Regions from separate parts of the Homo sapiens genome. Here region 2 is linked to region 1. The links are contacts of gene promoters, found by promoter capture Hi-C in human tissues and cell types (Jung and others, 2019). All regions are on one chromosome and are shown on one strand. Each heading gives the region's core, a stretch centred on a gene start or on the middle of the fragment in contact. The rest is flanking DNA. Distances are from core to core; before and after follow the strand shown. Region 1 holds the start of SLC45A1 (solute carrier family 45 member 1). Region 2 overlaps RERE (arginine-glutamic acid dipeptide repeats).

Region 1 (6,189 bases), core at 1,866-4,365:
TTATAAGGAGTAAATCAAGATTAACATGTTTAAGAAGCTAAGCTTATTTATGTTCCTCACTGGCCTAGCTCAAGCACTTCTGCATGGTAAAACCTGGTGATTGGCAGGTCTTCCTTTCAAAACCCCAAGCAGCAGTTAGCATCCCCTGGAGCTTCATTCATCAAAAGCACAGAAATAGAGCGCCAGTTCCAACACTGTGTAAGACCATCTCCTTCAGAGTCAGAGGCGAGACCCAGCACAGGTGAGGTGGACGGTTGGATCGGACTCCGCCCAAAGGTCACAGCCCCACGTATGCTCTCAGTGGCCATCTCCCTTTCTGTCCCTCTGCCCAGCCTCTCCCCACCTGCAGGCACACAGGCATATCTCCCACTCTTTCTAATCAGCATTTTAACCATAATGTGAACTTAAGTGCATTAGAAACCTTCCCTTTAAATTTGGAATGAAGAACTGTGGCCCAGTTTGGAAAAACTTCAGCTTTAAACAGCATATGGCAGGTGTGTGTGTGTGTGTGTGTGTGTGTGTGTGTGTGTGTGTGTAGAGAGAGAGAGAAACAGAGAGAGAGAGAGAGAGACAGACAGACAGACAGACAGACAGAGTCTCCCTCTATCTAGCCCAGGCTGGAGTGCAGTCATCATCGCTCAGTGCAGCCTCAACCTCCCTGGGCTCAGGTGATCCTCTCACCTCAGCCTCCCAAATAGCTGGAACTACAGGTGCACACCACCACACCAGGCTAATTCTTGTATTTTTTTGTAGAGATGGGGTTTCGCCATGTTGCCCAGGCTGGCCTCAAACTCCTGGGCTCAAGTGATCCACCTGCCTTGGCTTCCCAAAGTGTTGGAATTACAGGCATGAGCCACCATTCCCAGCCCCTGAAGTGTCTTTTTGAAAAGAGGAGCCTCTTTGACCTTATTTAAAGTGGACTATGTAGACGGCCCACTTCTCTACCTGCAAGAGGACAACTCTACTGCCACCTCCGCCACACCCCACTGCAGCCTGTCCTAGCAGAAGGGAGATCCTCACACACTCAATGAACTTCTCTCTAGCATCTGAACCAGAATTAAACCTAGCTTAATCCTGGCTCAGAAGAAGTCTTTACTAAGGATTCATCTTCAAATCTGGGGATCAGCATTACCATTTTTATTAAAACTACATTTAGTAAAAACTGTTCACAAATGTTTATCATAAGAAGAATTTTAGAAACTCATTTTTGAGACCGGGCACAGTGGCTGACGCCTGTAATGCCAGCACTTTGGGAGGCCGAGGTGGGTGGATCACCTGAGCTCAGGAGTTCGAGACCAGCCTGGCCAACATGGAGAAACCCCGTCTCTACTAAAAATACAAAAAATTAGCTGGGCATGGTGGCGAGTGCCTGTAATCCCAGCTACTCCGGAGGCTGAGGCAGGAGAATCGCTTGAACCCAGGAGGTGGAGGTTGTAGCGAGCTGAGATCGCACCACTGCACTCCAGCCTGGGCAACAGAGTGAGACTCTTGTCTCAAAAAACAACAACAACAACAACAAAAATCCATTTTTAAGGTTCCCATAAAAATGGGTGAAAGTGGAATTTAAGATCATAAAATCTAATTTTCATGCACAAATACAAACATTCGCCAGACCATCTTTACTGTACCATATGACCATTTACTCGGTCAAAAGGAAATCCACTCATCTCCCTGGATCCCCCGAAGGCTATGCAAGGGGTCCACTGTGCTTCCAGAGTACAGAGGATGCTTAAAGTAACAGATTCCTCAAACTGTGTTGTGGGAAGTTTAAGCGGCAAATGATTAATAAAAGTAATCAATGTCAATGTAGTTTGAATGCTTACAATGATCCTACTACGAGCGGAAACCATTTCCTCATTTCTTTCTTCTCGTTATGAAAATGAGCTCCCCCCACGGGGTTGCCTTGGGCCACCTCCCTTCCTAGGGCGTATTTGCTTATTTGTTTATTTGAGACGGAGTCTCACTCTATCGCCCAGACTAGAGTGCAGTGGCATGATCTGGGTTCACTGCAACCTCCGCCTCCTGGGTTCAAGCGATTCTCCTGCCTCAGCTTCCCAAGTAGCTGGGATTACAGGCATGTGCCACCACGCCCGGCTAATTTTGTATTTTTAGTAGAGATGGGGTTTCACCATGTTGGCCAGGCTGGTCTTGAACTCCTGACCTCAGGTGATCCACCCGACTCAGCCTCCCAAAGTGCTGGGATTACAGGCATGAGCCACCGCGCCCGACCCCTCATGCTTCTTTCTACCCATTCTCAAAATTCTTCAGTGAGGTCCTCCAGGACCAGGAAGGTGCTCTACGGACTTGGGAGGGTGCACTTAATAGGCTAGTTACTGAATCGTGGCCGTTTCCCACTTTGCATCTCCGGCAGCTTGACCCCTACTCCAGGGCCAACTTTTCCCAAAAGCCCAGGCCAGGTGCAGCCTGAACGTGGCTTTCCTCCGCCCCTGACTCTGCTTCCCTGTAAGAGCTGAAAAACATGCACGGCTGTCACTCTAGAAATAATTAGAGAAGTTGCTGATTGTCGAGGGCAGAAGGAGCTGAACGGCTTCCACCTCAGCGCGTTCCCCTTGGTGCTGACTCGCTCGGGAAAGGGGAGTCCTCGGTGCCCTCGCTAAGTAACCCTGGGATGCTGAGGGGCGTTGCCAGGCCCCTGGTCAACAAGAGGGCTCAGCCCCACGCAAGAGGTGAGCCGGGAGCGGATGACACCTGCCCAGGTGACTAGGGACCAGGCCTCCGGCTCAAGGAGCGCATCAGGAGCTGGGGCCAAGGCCGGGGTCTCCTCCCCTTGCCAGCAAGGATGAGAGCACCTGCCATCTGGCCGGCACCCTCCCCTGGGCCCGAGGCTCCTGCCCTCGGAGGGGCGAGACGGGGGAGCTCCGTGGACTCTGCAATTCATGAGACTTCCACGAGGAACAAAGGTCTCCGTGCCGGCCTCGGGTCCCGGTCTCGGCGCCCTGACTACCCCGGGGCCCAGGGCGCGGCGCCCCGGCAGGCACGGAGCCAGAGAGCGGGCGGAGGGCGCGGAGGAGACGGTGGTACCTGTGGGTGGAGACGGCAGGCATCCCTGTCCCCGCTGGGCTGCTGCCTGCCCGGCCGCGGTCCCGGCTGCTGCAGCATCACCCGGGGCGGGGCGCTGACGTCACGGCCGCAGCCTCCGCATCCGCGCGGGGCCCGGAGCCTTAAAGCGGCGCCGCGTCTGGGGCCCCGCGGGCGGGAGGGGAGCCCGGTGTCCTCCTGGGCCCTTCCCGCGGGAGGCCCGTCCCGGTGCTTCGCGCACGACGGCGCGGTCTGCAGGATCTGCCAGGATCCCGGAGGAAAACGTCCCCCCGGCCTCACAGTTCTCACCGTTTTCTTCTGATTTTAAAAGAAATAAATACATTTTCGTGTCTTCATGTATAAATAGATACCCATGTGTTCGCGGATACGTGAATGCCGCAGTGCGTGTGCCAAGCCTGTGCCCATGTGCGCAGTGGGGCAGCCGGGCCTGCTGGAGGCGTCGCGACTCTGGGCCCGGAGCTGTCCAAGGCACTGGGGATGCCGCAAGAACAAGGCAAAGTTCCCGCCCCTGGGGGAACTTTGTAATGTAAGTAAATACATAAATACTTTATGTATTTATTATTTACTTCATTTTTTAAAATACAGAGAGGCAGGGCCTTGCTATGTTGCCCAGGCTGGTCTCGACTCCTGGGCTCAAGTGATCCTTCTGCCTCGGCCTCCCAAAGTACAGGTGTGAGCCACCGCACCCGGCTGCATGACATTTAAGAGAGAGACACACACACATTAAACAAGACATAAAATAAATGGTATGTCAGAAGATGGCAATGCCCTAGAGAAGGGGTTAGGGAGTGTGGGGCTGCAGAGGCGCTGGCCTTGCAGGTTTCTATCAGGTTGTTGGCGAGTCCTCACCTGGAAGGTGACACTAGAAGGAGGATTTGCGGAGCAGGCCGGGCACGGTGGCTCACACCTGTAATCCCTGCGCTCTGGGAGGCCGAGAGGGGCAGATCACCTGAGGTCTGGAGTTCGAGACCAGCCTGGCCAACATGGCAAAACCCCCATCTCTACTAAAAATATAAAAATTAGCCACACGTGGTGCTGGGTGCCTGTAATCTCAGCTACTCAGCTGAGGCAGGAGAATCGCTTGAACCTGGGAGGCAGGGGTTGCAGTGAGCTGAGATCGTGCCACTGCACTCCAGCCTGGGCCACAGAGTGAGACTCCATCTCAAAAAGAAAAGAAGGACCTGAGGAGCTAGGGGGGCCAGCCAGACTGACGTGTGGGGAAGGTCACGCCAGGCACTGGGAAGAGCAAGTGCAAAGGCCAGGGGCAGAAGTGAGCTGGGCTGAGTCCAATAATTACGGATGAAATAATTATGCAGCTGGTAGTGGAATAATAACCCCAGGGAAGCGCTGCAGAGTGGGGGCACGGGGCCCTGTGGAAGTTTACCGCGGCGGATTCCACCCCATTGGGAGGGTCGAGGGCTCCTCAAGGAGCCCTACCAGGCCAAGTAGAGAGAACAGCATGTCCCACACAGAGGGCTCAGAGAGCTCTGCACTGGCAGAGCTCCGGAGGGGAGAGGGCCTGGAGGCACACTGCAAAGGAAGTGGAGGGGGACAGGGATGCAGAGGCCTGGGAAGGAGGTGAGGGCTGGGGAGGTGGGACAGGCCCAGGTGTGGCCTCTTAGGCAGTTGCCAGTTTCTAAGAGCAAAGAGAAGCCTAGAAAGGTTTTATGTAGGGGAGTGGATGGCATGAATCCTATTCACAGTTAGCAAAGATCATAAAGCTCAGAGTGAAAACAGATTGGAGGGAACCAGGGGACCACATGGGCGTACCGGGTGGCACAGGTGGGAGAGTTGGGGGTGTTGGTAGAGGGAGAGAGGTGATGGACTGGCCGGGGACTTAGGACTCCATGATTGACTGAAGGTGGGGGGGTACAGGAACAGCGAGGGTGGTGCTAAGAAGTTTCTAGCTTGAGCGATGAGGGAAGAGAGTGGATTCATGGAGGCCAAAGCAGGTGTGTGCTGGAGTGAATGCCATAGGTTTGCTTTGGGATATGCTGAGCTTGAGGGCCTTCGCAGCCTCTAGGCCACCAGACACTTGGGTCTGGAGCTCAAAGATGCTCCTTTATGAGTCCCCTGCACATGGGAGCTAATTGCAGGTGAACTGTGGACCTCGCACTGCCAGGGAGAGGCGCAGGGCAGAGGGCCCCAGAGGACACCATGGGAATTTCAACAGATCCTGCCCAGGCTGAAGAGAAGGAGCCACTGGAGGGGGCTGGTTCTGGCTTCTTTTATCTCTATAACAGGGTAACAGCTTGAAAAAAATACCGATGTCCTTTTCTATTTTGCATGCAAGTGGCCTGCCATCAACTGATGAGCTTCAGCACCTCAGGGACTTAATGCAATAGAAGCTTACTTCCACATGAGGTTGGCAGAAGTGTGCCTGATGGGTGGGGACCTCTGTGAAGCCATTCAGGGATCCCGGTTGCCTCCATCTTGCTCTGCCCTGGTGCACTGAGGGAGGAGCCCAGGTGGTGCCTGCCCACGGGGCCAGGTGTGCAGGAGGCCCACGTTCCACTCGAATCCCATTGGCTAGGACCCTGCCACACAGCCACACCGGCCACACCCAACCCACAACAGGGCTGAGAGATGGGGCCCCTGTCCCCAGGAGAGGAGGAGATGGGGGTGGGGAGTTGCTGGCTTCAACTGCTTCTGTAACTTTTAGCTGCTTGCAGAGGGGAGAGAAGATGGGGAATGCTGAGAAAACTTAAAGATCATCTCGAGGTTCTGATGTTCACAACGGGATTTTGCAACAAGAGAAGAGGTTTGAAATCTAAGCATTGTTGAGAAAGAAAGGGATTTTGAAAATTCCTTTGACCTTTTTTAAACTTCCAAAGTGAGAACCTTCTAAGGCTAGAGCTTTTGCTTTTTAGCCCCTCCAAGTTCAGGGCAGAGAGCAGTGTTTCTCCCTGGGGGCAGACAAGATTTCTCCTGTCTCGACAATAGGTCTAGACTGGGGGCCAGAGTGGAAGGGGCTGACAGAACATGCAGGAAAGACAAGAGACGCTCGCCCTTCCGGTCCTGGGTGTGGGGGAAGGATGGCAGAGGGAGGAGGGAGAGTGAGGGGGAGGAAGGTGCTTGGGGTGCATCCCAGCTCCTTTCTCCCTGCGCCTCAGCCCTGTCGTGGCAGAG
Region 2 (6,189 bases), core at 2,066-4,565, 380 kb before region 1:
TGGCTAATTTTTGTATTTTTAGTAGAGATGGGGTTTCACTATGTTGGCGAGGTTGGTCTCGAACTCCTGACCTTGTGATCCACTCGCCTCGGCCTCCCAAAGTGCTGGTATTACAGGCATGAGCCACTGCGCCTGGGCTATCCATTGCATTTTTAAAAAGGAGCAAAAGTCGTAGAAACAAACTTGATTGAAATCTGTTTATGACTAAAGCTGATATTATAAATGTGGTACCTTTGTGTCAGAGGCCCAGTTTGCTGATAGAAGATGGGGGCTGAGGGTTGTTGGGGCGGAGTGGGATCTCGTGGGGGTGGCTGGGTAGAAAGAGAGCTTGTCTTAGACTAAGATACTTTTTAATTCATTGGAGAAATTGGTCCATCTTCAGACAACCTGGAATGAAGCAGTAGAGTGCAGTATTTTCTAGAAAACGTGATAATTTCATTGTAACTTATATAGAAAATGTTTTCTCTAATTAAAAGAAGTTAAAACATTCAGATTGGCAACAGACTGCTGAATCCAAGGAATAATGGAGGGAAGTAGGTATCCTACATCCAATTCAAACAGGTTATATCACAAGTTCATTTGTAAGTCTTTTTCCAGGTTGTTATCCAATTCCACATATTAATGATGATTGGGGTCTTAGACTTTCCCTCTAAAATCTAATTAATCCATGAAATAGTTGACATACTTAAATATTTGTAATAAAACAGAATAATGTTGATGCTTAGTCAATAGGAAAATTAGCATAATTTTACTCAATTTTTAATGTTATCATTGAACTCTGGTGTAATTCATTAATTTATTCAGTACAGCGTAGTGGTAAATAGTTAGGCTGTCTGAGTTTGAGTTCTATTCTTAGTTTACCACTTACTCACTGTGATACCTGGGGTAAGTTATTTAACCTCTGTGACTGTTTTCTCATACCAGAAAATAATGAGTCTACCTAGAGGGTTTACGAAATGCTTTAGGACCATGCTTAGCATGGGAAAACAGTGAATAGTTAACATAGTGAGCACTAATTATGTACTAGGTACTGTTTTAGTTGCTGAAGATACAAAAAAGATGAAGTCTCTGTTCTCATAGCATTTATTTTCCAGTGGAGGAGGACAAAACAAATAAAAATGAGCATGATGATTCGTGAAACTTACAAACATAATTTCTGAGCAGGTTAGTGAGCCATGATTGCACCACTGCACTCCAGCCAGAGTGACAGGGCAAGACCCTGTCTCATTGAAAAACAAAAAAGAAGAAAACATTTAATTTTAGAGTATTAATCAGAAGCTTCTTGTTAAGATAATAAGAATATAATGGGTAAGTATGGGAGATCATTATAAAAGTAAAGTGTTGGGGCCAGGTGCAGTGGCTCACGTCTGTAATCCTAGCATTTTGAGAGGCCCTATTGGGAAGATCTCGATCTCTGGAGTCCAGAAGTTCAAGACTAGCCTTGGCAACATAGCGAGACCCTGTCTCTATCTATTAAAAAAAATAAAAATAGAAAAAGTAAAGTATTTATGCTGTTAATGATTTGAAATAATCACTTGTTCTAAAGCTGAACAATTAGATTTGTTTCTCATATCTTGTTTTCCACAAGATGAATGAGCTTTTGTAGTTGTAGTTTTAAGAAAGGGTCCATTTATATGTGACTGGTGGGCTTCAAAGGAACAAAAGAGTGTAAATATACTGTGCATTTGAAAAATCGCTTAAGTCAAAAGCCTCCAGATGGTGTGTGCTGCTGTGTTCACAGCTGTATTTACCAGTAGCTCACCACATTATCTACCAATAATTTTAAAATAGCTGGGTAGAAACAGTGGTATATTCAGCAGTAGTGACTTGTGTGCCTTTTAATAAAATGACAGTGAAAGTACCTCCTTTTGCATGTTCTTCAGGATTTCTTAGTTGGGGCAGTTTATGTTTTGCACAAACAACCTGAGTTTACATACAGAAGCAGATAACCAAGTTATTTTTATGTGGTGGTCTCTCAGGAATGAGGCTGGGGAAATTCTGCCGATCTGTATCACTCAAAGATGTTTTTGTTTTACTCACCAGCTTTATAATTTTAAACATTTAAAAAATGTTAAATATAGGCTACTCTGCCTAAGGAATAGCCGTTCTTTATTCCTTTGCTTTCTTAATAAACTTGCTTTCACTTAAAATGTTAAATATATGTAATTGATAACTTATACATAAATAATATTATAAGGTGAGTCTTGTGTGATGACATTCTTTGGCATTACCAACAAAAAAAGACAGGCCTTTCAATACCCAGATCTACTCCCTAATATGAACTTTTTTTTTCTATTCCAAAGATTTAATACAAGTTCTTTTGGAAGGACTCAAAATTTTAAGTCTTATTATTTTTGGCCACAGACACTACTGTTCATTTGCTTAGTAAAGTGAATGGCTTGCATAAGTTACATGTAAAACATAGAAAAAGAGTTTAGAACATTATCCAGGAACTTTAGAAAGTTGTGTGTGGTAGGTTGGGTGTGGTGGCTCGCGCCTGTAATCCCAGCACTTTGGGAGGCCGAGGCGGCGGATCACGAGGTCAGGAGATCGAGACCGTCCTGGCTAACATGGTGAAAAACATTTTGTAAAAATACAAAAAATTAGCCGGGTGTGTTGGCGGGTGCCTGTAGTCCCAGCTACTCGGTAGGCGGAGGCAGGAGAATGACGTGAACCTGGGAGGCGGAGCTTGCAGTGAGCTGAGATCACGCCACTGCACTCCAGCCTGGGGGACAGAGTGAGACTCCGTCTCAAAAAAAAAAAAAAGTTGTGTGGGGGGGGTGTGGTTGGGGGAAGAAAGATACATGTGTATTTATTTATTAATTGATTAAATTATACAGAAAAACCTATATCTAGATTGAACATTTGAACAATTTTTTCTTTTTGTTTTTGCTGTTTATTTCTTACTGTTACCTTCTTTTTTGAGTGGTAGGAAAATGACGCAGACAAGTTTTCATCTTATGTGTATGTTTTTTGGCTATTTACCTAGGCAGCTTCCTTAGCCTGTGCTCTTTCCACAGATCATAATTCTTAACATAGGTTAGAGTAAATGTTCAGTAATGAAATATTCACCTTTCTCAATATGTTAGATGTTCATGGAAAGGACTCTTAACAGTATTTACTCTTAAGTGTGTTGGGTGCAGGAGCAATTTGAGTTTGGATCTTATTATTTTTTTCACTAGTACCTCCATTACATTTTATTTACTTTTTTTTTTTGATAATTTCAACTGTTTTTATTTTATTTTTTATTTTTGAGATGGAGTCTTGCTCTGTTGCCGAGGCTGGAGTGCAGTGGCGCAATCTCAGCTCTCTATAATCTCTGCCTCCTGGGTTCAAGCTATACTCCTGCCTCAGCCTCCTGAGTAGCTGGGACTACAGGCGCCTGCCACCATGCCCTGCTAATTTTTGTATTTTTAGTAGAGATGGGGTTTCACCGTGTTGGCCAGGCTGGTCTCGAACTCCTGACCTCAGGTAATCCACTCGCCTCAGCCTCCCAAAGTGCTGGGATTACAGGCGTGAACCACCGCGCCCAGCCTTGTTCGTTTATTTGTGAGAGTGTCTCACTCTGTTGCCTAGGCAGGAGTTCAGTGGCACAATCTCAGCTCATTGCAACCTCCACCTTGCGGGTGCAAGCGATTCTTTTGCCTCAGCCTCCTGAGTAGCTGGGACTACAGATGTGTGCCACCACACCTGGCTAATTTTTATCTTTTTAGTAGAGATGGGGTTTTACCATGTTGCCCTGGCTAGTCTCCCAACTCTTGAGCTCGGGTGATCTGCTCACCTCTGCCTCCCATAGTGCTGGGATTACAGACGCGAGCTACCGTACCCAGCCTGTACCACATTTTCTTTATCAGTCCATCATTGGTGGGTTCCTAGGTTGATTCCATGTCTTTGGTATTGTGTATAGCGCTGTGATGAACATACGAGTGCATGTGTATTTTTGGTAGAACGATTTAATTTCTTTTGCATGTATACCTGGTAATGGGAAATCTCCAAACTGCTTTCCACAGTGGCTGAACCAATTTATGTTCCCACCAACAGTGTATAACTGTTCCCTTTTATCCACAGCCTCACCAGTGTCTGTTGTTTTTTGGCTTTTTAATAATAGCCATTCTGACTGGCGTGAGACGATATTTCATTGTGGTTTTGATTTGCATCTCTCTGATGATGAATGATGTTAAACATTTTATCATATTTGTTGGCCACTTGTATGTCTTCTTTTGAGGAATGTCTGTTAATGCCTTTTGCTTAGTTTGTAATGGGGTTATTTGTTTTCTGCTTGTTGTATTGTTAAAGTTCCTTATAGATTCTGGGTATTAGACCTTTGTCAGATGCATGATATTTAAATATTTTCTGCTATTTTGTAGGTTGTCTGTTTACTTTGTTGACAGTTTTGTTTTTTTGAGTTGGAGTCTCACCCTGTTACCCAGACTGGAGTGCAGTGGCGTGATCTCAGCTCGCTGCAACCTCCACCTCCCAGGTTCAAGTGATTCTCTGCCTCAGCCTCCCAAGTAGCTGGGATTACAGGCGCTCACTACCATGCCTGGCTTTTTTTTTTTTTTTTTTTTTTTTTTTAGTAGAAATGGAGCTTCACCATGTTGTTCAGGCAGATCTCAAACTGCTGACCTCAGGTGATCCGCCCCCCTGGGCCTCCCAAAATGCTGGGATTATAGGCATGAGCTACCATGCCTGGCCCTTTGTTGATAGTTTCTTTTGCTGTGCAGAAGCTCTTTAGTTTAATTAGGTCCCAGTTGTCAATTTTTGTTTTTGTTGCAGTTGCTTTTGAGGACTTAGTCATAAATTATTTCCTAAAGCCAAGGGTCGGAATGGTGTTTTTTAGGTTTTCTTCTGGGATTTTTACAGTTTGTGGTCTTGCATTTAAATATTTAATCCACCTTGAGTTGATGTTTATATATGGGAAAAGGTAGCGGTCCAGTTCTGCATATGGCTAGCTAGCTATCCCAGCACCATTTTTTGAATAGGCAGTCCTTTACCCATTGCTTGTTTTTGTCAGCATTGTCAAAGATCAGATGGCTGTAGGTTTATGACTTTATTTGTAGGTTCTCTATTCTGTTTCATTGGTCTATGTGTCTGTTTTTGTACCTGTACCCTCCTGTTTTGATTACCGTAGCCTTATAGTATAGCTTGAAGTTGGATAATGTGATGCTGCCAGCATTCCCCCCCCCCCCTTAGGATTTCTTTGGCTCTTTGGGTACTTTTTTTGGTTTCATATGAATTTTAGAATTACTTTGTTTAATTCTGTGAAAAATGACATTAGTAGTTTGATAGGAATAGCATTAAATCTGTAGATTGCTTAGGAAAGTGTGGTCATTTTAATGATTCTTCCAATCTATGAGCATCAAATGTTTTTCCATTTGTGTCATCTGTCATTTCTTTTTTTTTTGAGATAGAGTCTCGCTTTGTCACCCAGCCGTGAATGCAGAGGTATGATCTTGGCTCATTTCAACCTCTGCCTCCCGGGTTTAAATGATTCTCCTGCCTCAGTCTCCCGAGTAGCTGGAACTACAGGCATGTGCCACCACGCCCGGCTAATTTTTGTATTTTTAGTAGAGATGGGGTTTCACCATATTGATCAGGCTGGTCTTGAATTCCTGACCTTGTGATCTGCCCGCCTCAACCTCCCAAAGTGCTTGGATTACAAGCGTGAGCCACCCCGCCCAGCCCACCTGTCATTTCTTCTAGCAGTGTGTTTTAGTTCTCTTTGCAGAGATTTTCCCCCTCCTTGGTTAGGTGTATTCCTAGTTATTTTCTTTCTTTATGGCTATTATAAATAGGATTGCATTCTGGATTGGCTCTCAGCTTCAACATTATTGGTGTATAGACATACTGCTGAGTTTTGTACATTGACTTTGTATCCTGAAACTTTTACTGAAGTTGTTTATTGTACCAGGAGTCTTTTGATGGCGTCTTCAGGGTTTTCTAGGTATAGAATCATATTGCCAGCAAAGAGCAGTAGCTTGACTTCTTCTTTTCCTGTTTGGATGCCTTTTATTTCTTTCTGTTGCCTGATTGCTCTGGCTAGCACTTCCTGGCTCTTTGAATGGAAAAGGAGAACTAAAAGTGCGGAAAATGTAAGGATTAAAGCAATCTGGCCTTTTTTTTTTTTTTTTTTGGGAAAGAAAATTGGTGTTGTTCAGTTTTGCTAACAGGCCTAACATTTAAGCATTT

The links. Contacts are between HindIII fragments. The study calls those that stand out against the background at their distance.
Region 2: a fragment that was not itself captured here is called in contact with the fragment with the promoter of SLC45A1 in region 1 in 1 of the 25 tissues and cell types used here (adrenal gland).

What each region holds. Positions count from the first base shown.
Region 1 is chr1:8,315,040-8,321,228 of GRCh38, reverse strand. SLC45A1 (solute carrier family 45 member 1) reads right to left here and starts at 3,115. Exons shown (of 9, transcript NM_001080397.3): 1 at 3,043-3,115. RefSeq lists a silencer at 3,006-3,285. The HindIII fragment of the contact is 6,823 bases long and covers 1-6,115 here.
Region 2 is chr1:8,693,974-8,700,162 of GRCh38, reverse strand. The region is part of intron 1 of RERE (arginine-glutamic acid dipeptide repeats); the gene reads left to right. Among named protein-coding and RNA genes, the nearest start is that of RERE, 120 kb to the left of the region's middle. The HindIII fragment of the contact is 5,747 bases long and covers 442-6,188 here.